2 separate regions of the Homo sapiens genome follow, and region 1 is linked to region 2. The links are contacts of gene promoters, found by promoter capture Hi-C in human tissues and cell types (Jung and others, 2019). All regions are on one chromosome and are shown on one strand. Each heading gives the region's core, a stretch centred on a gene start or on the middle of the fragment in contact. The rest is flanking DNA. Distances are from core to core; before and after follow the strand shown.

Region 1 (4,855 bases), core at 167-2,666, 270 kb after region 2:
GTCTCAAAAAAAAAAAAAAAAAAAAAAAAAAAATAGCCCTGGGCCAGGCATGGTGGCTCACACCTGTAATCCCAGCACTTTGGGAGGCCGAGGCAGGGGGATCACGAGGTCAGGAGATCGAGACCATCTTGACTTACTAACACAGTGAAACCCCGCCTCTACTAAAAATACAAAAAAAAATTAGCCGGGCGTGGTAGCACGCGCCTGTAGTCCCAGTTACTCAGGAAGCTGAGTGAGGCAAGAGAATCGCTTGAACCCGGGAGGTGGAGGTTCTAGCGAGCCAAGATCACGCCACTGCACTCCAGCCTGGATGACACAGCGAGACTATCTCAAAAAAAACAACAACAACAACAAAAACAGCCCCACATGCCTGTGGAAGACTGCAAAGAAGAAACTTGAGGAACTTAAGAAGCTGAGACCAAGACCGAGATCAAGTCTAGGCGTCTGCAGAGCCTAGCTCAGCTCAGCTTTAAAGCAGAGGGCAGGTGTCCGGGGTGGGGCGTGGGGAAGGCTGGTCACTGGCGCCTCACCTTGATGGGGATGCAGGCGTGGTCCTCCTCCAGGTCCTTCAGGCAGATCTCCAGGTGCAGCTCGCCGGCGCCCGCGATGATATGCTCTCCCGACTCCTCGATGATGCACTGAAAGGGATGCGGGTCAGCACCAAAGGGGTAGGCGGCTCGGAACAGGCGGGACCAGGCTCCCAGCTTCCCTTTAGCTAGGGACCCCGCCAGAACAAGATTTCAGGGAAGGTGCTGGGAAACTGGGACCAGCACAAACTCCTGAAGAAATGTTAAGTCCCACAAGCTACAGTGAACACGCGCAGAGCAGCCTAGGAGAGGGTGGTGGCTGCCTGGGCAGGAGTCTCCATTTACAGCCACAGCCAAGAACCCCTCCTTTCATGACCAGTCACCCCAATCCACCAACCACAGCAACCCACACAGCCACAACTCAGGACACAAGCCGTCCCCCCTCAGGGTGTCTGCTCCCAGCAGGTGCACTCCGTGCCCACCTGCACCATGGGGTCGGACTTGGCCAGCCGCTTCAGCCCCTCCACCAGCTTGGGCAGGTCAGCCGGGTTCTTGGCCTCCACGGCCACTCTGACAACAGGGCTGACGCTGAACTTCATCACCCGCATGTTGTGCGCGTGCTCGAAGGTGGTGATGGTGCCCGTCTTCACCAGGAACTGGTCCACGCCCACGAGGCCCACAATGTTCCCACAAGGCACATCCTCGATGGGCTCCACGTAGCGGCCCATCATCAAGATTGTTCTGGAAGAAGCAGAAGGCGGCAGCAGGCCGCAGGGATGGTTGTGCTGGACCCTGGAGGGCCAGGGCAGGTCCCTCCCGGAGTTGGTGGCCCTCCTGCCAGGTCCCAGGGCAGACTGGTGGCTTCCACAAGGCCCTGACTGCTGCGTCGGGGCTGTCAGGAAACATCCTCTTCAGAATCACTGCCCTCCTCCCTGGGTATGGGTCGACGGCCGCCACCCACCTGTGCCCAGGGACACAGATGAGCAGGGGTGTGCTGTGCCCTGGGGCTTGGAGCTTCTCCAGAAATGCCCTCACTGGGCTAAGAACAAAAGTTGTGGCTGGCACAAGTATCACCCTATATTCCTTCTATGCTCCTTACTTCTAGCTCCCGACTGAGGAGCCCAAGACTTGGAGCAGGGCAGGGCCCGCAACAGTGCCAAGGGGCCTGCACATCACCCAGCTGCTCACCTCTGGATTGGCTTCAGGTAGAGGTCCTCCTTCTTCCCAGGGGTATAGTTGGGCCCCATGATCCTGACCTTCAGGCCAGTGGAGACCAGCCCCGAGAAGACTCGTCCAAAGGCGTAGAACCGACCTTTGTCGGAGGTTGGCACCATTTTGGAAATATACATCATAAGAGGGCCTTTGGGGTCACAGCTTTTAATGCCTGAGGGACAGAGAAAACCCGCAAGCTTTATTCCAGTGCAGCTCAGCCTTCTGGAACCCTGCAACCCACAACCTTGGGCAACAGGAAGTCATCCGGCTGCATCTCAGGGCCCGGCCACCGGGACCACGTACCCATGGCAGCCTCGTCGTCCGGGGGCCCCTCGTACAGGAGCTCGCAGCGGTACTTCTGGGCCGTCACAGGGGAGGGCAGGTGGATGGTGATCATCTGCAACAAGGCGTCTCCGGCAGGCAGCCAGCGGCGCATCACAGCCTGCGGGGGCAGAGAGCGGTGCATGAGACACCTGGGGAGCCCAGGATGGCCCCACCCCGTACACGCTTCCTCTCTTGAAGCCAAGGAAGCCAAAGTCAGGACTAACGTTCTCCAAAGCACAGTCCCTTCTGGAAGGCGGCAAAGGCCATGCACACTCCTGCCAAGGCCCTCACCCACACCTGTCCCGGATGGGGCTGGCTGCTGGGATGTGTCTCCAGCAGCACCCAGAGTCTAAAGCGAAAGGGGCAGCAGCTGTCCCTGCCCAGCTGAGGACTTCAGCCCCCAGGCCTGGGCTGTCAGAGCATCCGGAAACAGCAGCCTGTGTTCCCTCCACCCCGAGGGCTGGGCCCAGGCCGCACCTTCAGCAGGGGTTTGCCTTCTTTGTCCTTGTCCTCGCTGTCCAGTTTGATGTCCAGTTTCTCTATCAGTTTTGCTGTCTCCTCTTTCTTGAAATTCATGATCGCATCAAACACCTACATTCCCCACCAAGAAACAAGAAAGCCCATTTGGGAACAGCAGGAGGAAGCCTGGCACTGCTTCCTGCTTGGAAGACTCAGGTCAGCGCAGGGGGACGCAGCACGGGAGCAGGAGCAGGCCTGGCCTGCCTACCACGGGCCCAGCCAGCTGAGCGGATCGGGAGCTGGAGGAAACCTCGTGGTGGAGCAGAGGAAAAAGCCCACTCTGACTCAGACAAGGACCCAAGTTCTGACTTACAAGCACTGAACCGCCAAAGCCACAAGTTATTCAACCCCCTCAATGCAGGAGAGGTCCCAAGGCTCTGGCTATGCAGTCCAGATCTTAAGAGAGGAGCCCTGACTCCACCTCAGTTAGGAGCTGTGCCTCCTCCCATCTCGCATCTGCCCCACAAGGAGACGGGCCCAGTCAGCCGACAGGCTACCGGCCGGAGCCCACAGGGCCGAGGGCCAATAGTCGCATCGGCGGGGTGCCTGGCGCAGCCCTCACTCACCTTGAAGATGGGGTCCAGGATCAGCTGGCAGAAGGTGCGTGGCAGCTTCTTCCCTTCGGGGCTGGTGGCTGACTTGCTGAACTTGCCGTTGGCTGGGTCAAAGTACCTGGCAAGGAGAGGCCAAGCCAAATCAAGTTAGGGTCTCCAGGGGATGACTTGGGGAGGGTGGTCGCCAAGGGGACATGCTTGGGCAAGACCTGGTGGGCTTGAGCCACGCTGTGAATAGCACACCACGCCCCTACGTCGCTGCCACTACCCCCAGGTGTCAGGAATCCCCCACCATATCCCGCGGGGCTCACCTGTCACCCCACAGCTTCTTCATCATGTCCTCTACTTTCTTGGCCCGCTCGGCAGGCCCCAACTGGCCCTCCCCCTTGGCGGCGAACTTGGCCACATACATCTCGGCAAACTGCTTCAGGGTGAAGGCCCACCCGTGGAGGCCAGACCCAAAGCCCACGGTACCGAGGACAGGATCGATCTGGAAGTGTGAGAAACGAGAAGCAGCCGTGAGGGCCCCTGCGCAGAGCCTGAAGCTACGGGCTGGGCGCCTTGGGCATGGGCCTCAGACGCAGGCTTTCTTCAGTAGACATCTGGTCAAAGTGAAGAAATGATCAGTCATCACGAATAGGGGGGCCAGCCCCTCCACCACCCAGGGCAGCGTTCCCTGAGCTCGTCTCTTCCAGCTGCCCAAAGATCAAGGGCTGGGTCAAGTCGGATGAAAACATTCCAGCCCCCTTCTCTGTCACCCAACATTCCTGGCAAAAACACACTTCCAGTCCCCCTCAGCTCAACTCCACTCCCCACCGGCTCCTGCAGATCCCGCTGCGGCAAGCCCACCACCCAGCTAGGGAGGGCCGTACCATGATGTTGCCCATGGGGCCGCTCTCGCCCTCGCCGTAGGTGGAGATGATGACGTTCACGTTCTCCACGATGCGCTGGAAAGTCTGGTAGAGCTCCTCGGGCTCCAGCTGCAGCTCCAGCAGGGCGCGGTCCATCTTGTTCATCATCAGCACAGGCTTGATGCGCTCGGCAATGGCCTGCCGCAGCACTGTCTCCGTCTGCACGCACACGCCTGGGGACACGGGGGACAGGGCGGCGCTGTCATCCTCAAGCAAGGATGGCCCCCGGTTCCAGGCCGTGCCTCAGGGGGACCCACTGCTTACCTGACACGCAGTCCACCACCACCAATGCGCCATCGGTGACTCGGAGGGCAGCAGTCACCTCCGAGGAGAAGTCGACATGCCCGGGGGAGTCAATGAGGTTGATGAGGAAGCCGGCACCGTCCTTGCTCTGCTTGATGAAGTTCAAGTCATTCTCCGAGAGCTCGTAGAAGAGGGAGATGGCACTGATGGAGGGAGGGACTCGTCAGGGGGACAGGAGCCACACACCTGGCCCAGGGAGTCTGGGATGCTGTCAGAAGCCAGGCTGCTCCTCCCTCCATGACTCATCCCTGGAGAGGCTCCCACAAGAGCCAACCCACCCTTGTCCTTTGCCTCTGTCCGAGACATGCCACCCCCATGACAGGGAACTCCTGGTACCAGCCCCATAGCCAGATCCTCAGAGCCCTCCTGACCAGACATCCTGCCCCACCGACTTGGTCCCAAGATTCATCACACCTGACTCAAAGTAGCAACTAAAAGACCCAGCAGGACGGCAAAAGCCTCCAGAGACTCCGACCCTCCCCTCCTCACTTCTGCCCCTGCTCCA
Region 2 (5,329 bases), core at 872-3,371:
TACTACCGTCAGCAGGAGGTACTGCAGGCTGGAGGGACCCTAGTCCATTCATTCCAAAAACATGTATTGAGCACCTACTGTGTACCAGGCACTGTGCTAGGCCATAGGACACGGCAGGGATGAGCACGACAAAGTCCATGACCTCTGTGAGGTGGCATTTTAATATTTATTTATTTATTTTTCAGCCAGCGTCTTGCTCTGTCTCCCAAGCTGGAGTGCAGTGGCGCGATCTCGGCTCACTGCAACCTCTGCCTCTGGGGCTCAAGCGATTCTCCCGTCTCAGCCTCCTGAGTAGCTGGGATTACAGACGCATGCCACCTTGCCCGGCTAATTTTTGTATTTTTAGTAGAGATGGGGTTTCACCATGTTGGCCAGGCTGGTCTCGAACTCCTAACTCAAGCAATTCTCCCACCTCAACCTCCCAAAGTGCTGGGATTACAGGGGTGAGCCATTGAGCCCAGACTTAATTTTTTAAATTTTAATTTTAATGTACTGGTAAAGATGGGGGGGTGTCTCACTATGTTGCCCAGACTGGTCTCGAATTCCTGGCCTCAAGTGATCCTGCCACCTTGGCCTCCAAAGTACTGAGATTATAGGTGTGAGCCATCATGCCCAACCCTTCCTGGTTAATTTTATTTTATTGAGATAGGATCTTGCTCTGTCACCCAGGTTGGAGTGCAGTGGCACAGTCATAGCTCTCTGCAGCCTCAACCTCCCAGGGTCAATTGATCCTCCCACCTCAGCCTCCTGAGTTTCTGGGACTACAGGTGTGTACCACCACATCTGGCTAATTTTTAAAAAAGTTTTCTGGGCTGGGCGTGGTGGCTCACGCCTGTAATCTCAGCACTTTGAGAGGCCAAGGCAGGCGGATCACCTGAGGCCAGGAGTTCAAGACCAGCTTGGCCAATATGGTGAAACTCCGTCTCTACAAAAATACAAAAATTAGCTGGGCATGATGGCTGGTGCCTGTAATGCAATCCCAGCTACTCGGGAGGCTGAGGCAGGAGAATCACTTGAAACCGGGAGGCAAAGGTTGCAGTGGGCCGAGATCAAGCCATTGCACTCCAGCCTGGGCAACATAGCAAGACTCTGTCTCAAAAAAATAAAAAAAAAATAAAATAAAAACAAAAAACAAAACAAAACCAACAACAGCCAGCAGCAACAACAAAAAAACTTTTCTAGGCCAGGCTCGGTGGCTCACGCCTGTAATCCCAACACTTTGGGAGGCCGAGGCGGGCAGATCACTTGAGGTCAGGAGTTTGAGACCAGCCTGGCCAACATAGGAAAACCCCGTCTCTACTGAAAAAAAAAAAAAAAATTAGCTGGGCGTGGTGGTGCACGCCTGTAATCCCAGCTACTTGGGAGGCTGAGGCAGAAGAATCACTTGAACCCAGGAGGCGGAGGTTGCAGTGAGCCGAGATCGCGCCACTGCACTCCAGCCTGGGTGACAGAGGGAGACTCCATCTCAAAACAAACAACAAACAAAAGATATATAAAAATTTTTCTAGAGATGGGTTTCACCGTGTTACCCAGGCTGGTCTCAAATTCCCAGGCTCAAGTGATCCTCCCACCTCGGCCTCCCAAAGTGCTGGAATTACAGGTGTGAGCCACCACACCTGACCCTTTCTTGTTTTTTAGATGAGGACAGCAAGAAGCCCCTGTAATTTGCCCAAAGCCACACAGCGGGGAAGTGGCAGAAGCTTCTGTACGTAGGAACCCAGTCACTTCGTAGCAGAGAGGCAGACTGCGCACAGATCTGCGTGGGGAAGGGAGTGCGCCAAGCCACAGCCTGATGGGCCGGCGTGCCTGGCAGGAGGCTCAGCAAGCACAGAGACTGGGCAGCTCCAGATGCAAGAAGCAGGAGGGAGGGGGACTCCGGGAGTGCGGTCCATTCATGTCTGAATGTAGCCAACGAGGGTTTCCTAAGCACCTACCATGTGCGGACGCTTGATACCAGGGCCTCGGCGGTGAGGGCACAGGCAGGAGCAAGCTCACCTCTGGGCAAGCAGGGGTTAAGGCCAGTTGCTCCCACGTGAGGGCACCTTGCGACAGAGCCACACACCCAGTCCTCCTGCTGGCCCGCCCCTCACCCTGGTCCGTCTCCCTGTGTCTGTGGTCGTCAGTTCCACTGGCAGGGGACCTGCCTCCCTGTTGCCACCACAAGAGAGGAAAAGTTGGTCAAACAGGTGGGGAGGCCAGAGCTACAAGCCTCGGGTTCCCTCCCCACCACCCGTGCCAGGCAGGCACCCGGGCCCTGGCACCTGCTGCCTGCCCAGAGGCCACCCAGCCTCCTAGACAGGTAAGTCCCCCGCCCCACTGTGCTTTTCCACCCAGTGTGCATTGTCTGAGCTGGCCTTCCCCAGCTGAGGGTCCTTAGACTCCCCCCCAACCTCCCCCACCACGAGCTGTCTCCCCGGCTCCTCGGAAAGCAGGAAACTGACACTCCTGCGTGGGCATCTGACATAGTTTCGTAGGGATTATCTGACCGGCAGTTACTGCACCTGGCGGCCTGCCCAGGACGCTGAGCTGGAAACTTAAAAGGGTCATTGTTACCTAGGTGGCGCAGGGACCGGGGAGGCGGCAAAGGGGCACAGGTTGGTCTCTGATCCCCCTAACTGAGGAGGGGAGGGGATATCAGTCCAGACGGAGCCTGGGTTTACCTCCTGCAGCCCGAGGCTAGGAGGTGACAGGTGGGAAAGGCTGCGACCTCACTCATCTCTGAGCCTCCTGGAACTTCTTAAAAGGCTCCCAAGTTTTGAAACAACTGCGTCTCCCGCCCCCCAACCCCTCACCCTGTTCTCACCGCTGGAACCTCCAGGAGCTTTGCAGGGAGGGATTGGGGTGGCCTTTCTTTTGCTAATTTTTTTTTTGAGACGGAGTTTTGCTCTTGTTGCCCAGGCTGGAGTGCAGTGGTGCGATCTTGGCTCACTGCAACCTCTGCCTCCACCTCTGCCTCCCGAGTAGCTGGGATTACAAGCGCCCACCACTATGCCCAGCTAATTTTTGTATTTTTAGTAGAGATGGGGTTTCACCATGTTGGCCAGGCTGGTCTCGAACTCCTGACCTCAGGTGATCCAACCCCCTCGGCCTCCCAAAGTGCTGGGATTACAGGCGCAAGCCACTGCGCCCAGACTTCTTTTTCTAATCTTTACTCCTCCGAGCAAAATCTCTGTGGGATGGGGCAGAGGGGAAGGAGGAAGGAGCGCTCAGAGCCAGAGAGGGGAGGGGTCGGCAGCAAAAGTGTTTTTCTGGGTCATTTGCTCCCAAATGGGAAGACCAAGGGAGCTTCCTCGTGAGCCAAGTGTCCGATTGCATCTCAAGTCTCTCTCCAGAACCAAGAGGGTCCCCCGGGGCCGAGGAGGCATGGATGATCGCATAGTGGGGGACAGAGCGGCCCGGCATTTGGGGTCACCTTGTGGCTGTGTGGCTGCAGAGCTCCCAGGGAGCAGGCTTGCTTGAGATTCGGGAGTCCGTGGGGGTGGGCGACATGGATCCCACCTTGCCTGGGTTTTGAGAGCAAACCCGTGGACTCAGTTAGATCTGGCTTCCACACCTCCCTTCTCTCCGGGCCTCTGTTTCCTGCTCTGTAAAATGGGGATATTGAGGGCCGGGCGCGGTGGCTCACGCCTGTAATCCCAGCACTTTGGGAGGTCGAGGCGAGTGGATCACAAGGTCAGGAGTTCGAGACCAGCCTGGCCAACATGGTGGAACCCTGTCTCTACTAAAAATACAAAAAATGAGCCGAATATGGTGGCAAGCACTTGTAATCCCAGCTACTCCGGAGGCTGAGGCAGGAGAATTGCTTGAACCCAGGAGGTGGAGGTTGCAGTGAGCCGAGATTGTGCCACTGCACTCCAGCCTGGACAACAGAGTGAGACTCTGTCTCAAAAAAAAAAAAAAAAAAAGGGGTGGGGGGATATGGAGTCACCAAGGCACAGGGCTGTTGAGTGCCGGATGTAATAAAGCGGGTAACAGATTCTCGGTCATTCTGGGGTCAAGACGAGCTATCCCGGTCCGAATCGGAGTCTGGTCTCATCAGCTTCCTGGTTTGTAGAGGATGAACCCTGGCTCAGAGAAGGACAGCCGCTTACCCCGGGCCGCACAGCCAAGTAGAAATGTCAGGCGGCCAAGAGTCAAGACGCAGAGGACAGGGAGCTGGTGGCGGGGGTGGTGCTCTGGAGGCTGGCCCTGCCCCCAGCTGATGCCTCAGGCTCAGCATCTCGAGAAAGTCCTGCCCCCTGGCTTGGTGCTTCCTCGTGGCCCTGAGTCCCGGGGAAAGTCCAGGGCAGGGAGTATGGGTACTTGTTCTTCCTCTTTAGGGCTGGCCAGGGGCCAGGGGAGCTGTGTTTGCTCAGGGTGGAACCTGACACCCTTTGGAATGGATTGAGGTTAGCGGAAGCCTAGGCTGGGGGGAGGGGTCGCCCAGGGAGCGAACGGGCATTTATTGTGCACTTACTGTATGCGCGAGTGTGGGGTCACCAGGCCTTGGAGATTCAGCAGTGAGCAAGGCAGGCCAAGCTTCCTGCTCTCGTGGGGCGCATATTTTGGTGGGGAAAGACAGACATGAAACAAGAGCGCAGTAATGGAGCCAATGGCTGCACAGAGGGTAACATGCGTGAGAGGCGCTTTGTAACTTTATTTTACTTTTTATATTTTTTTGAAACGGAGTCTCGCTCTGTCGCCCAGGCTGGAGTGCGGTGGCGCGATCTCGGCTCACTGCAAGCTCCGCCTCCCGGGTTCACGCCATACTCCTGCCTCAGCCTCCCGAGTAGCTGGGACTACAGGCGCCCGCCACCACACCCGGCTAATTTTTTGTATTTTTAGTACAGACGGGGTTTCACCGTGGTAGCCAAGATGGTCTCTCCTGACCTTGTGATCCGCCCACCTCAGCCTCCCAAAGTGCTGGGATTACAGGCGTGAGCCACCATGCCCGGCCTTATTTTATTTTTTTTTGAGATGGAGTCTCGCTCTGTTGCCCAGGCTGGAGTGCAGTGGAACGATCTCCGCTCGCTGCAACCTCCACCTCCTGGGTTCAAAGCGATTCTCCTGTCTCAGCCTCCCAAGTAGCTGGGATTACAGGCGCCCACCACCACGCCCAGCTAATTTTTGTATTTTTAGTAGAGACAGGGTTTCACCGTATTGGTCAGGCTGGTCTCGAACTCCTGATCTCAGGTGATTCGCTCGCCTCGGCCTCCCAAAGTGCTGGGATTACAGGCGTGAGCCACCGCGTCCGGCCAAAATGAAGGGAGAGCTTTAAATGCTGGCCTGAAGACATTTGGCTTTATGATATTAAAGGATATTTTTTCCCAAAATAGTAAAATCATTACTC

The links. Contacts are between HindIII fragments. The study calls those that stand out against the background at their distance.
Region 1: a contact is called between a fragment that was not itself captured here and the fragment with the promoter of TJP3 in region 2, in 1 of the 25 tissues and cell types used here (dorsolateral prefrontal cortex).

Annotation. Positions count from the first base shown.
Region 1 is chr19:3,978,799-3,983,653 of GRCh38, forward strand. It overlaps EEF2 (eukaryotic translation elongation factor 2), which reads right to left. Exons shown (of 15, transcript NM_001961.4): 3 at 4,312-4,493; 4 at 4,009-4,220; 5 at 3,448-3,626; 6 at 3,149-3,254; 7 at 2,541-2,654; 8 at 2,043-2,181; 9 at 1,716-1,911; 10 at 1,010-1,268; 11 at 531-638. It overlaps SNORD37 (small nucleolar RNA, C/D box 37), which reads right to left and starts at 3,774; the gene lies at 3,709-3,774. RefSeq lists an enhancer at 2,675-3,526. The HindIII fragment of the contact is 5,039 bases long and covers 1-3,936 here.
Region 2 is chr19:3,706,263-3,711,591 of GRCh38, forward strand. It overlaps TJP3 (tight junction protein 3), which reads left to right and starts at 2,122. Exons shown (of 21, transcript NM_001267560.2): 1 at 2,122-2,299. RefSeq lists enhancers at 1,567-2,230, 2,231-2,892, 3,728-4,273. The HindIII fragment of the contact is 5,666 bases long and covers 1-3,109 here.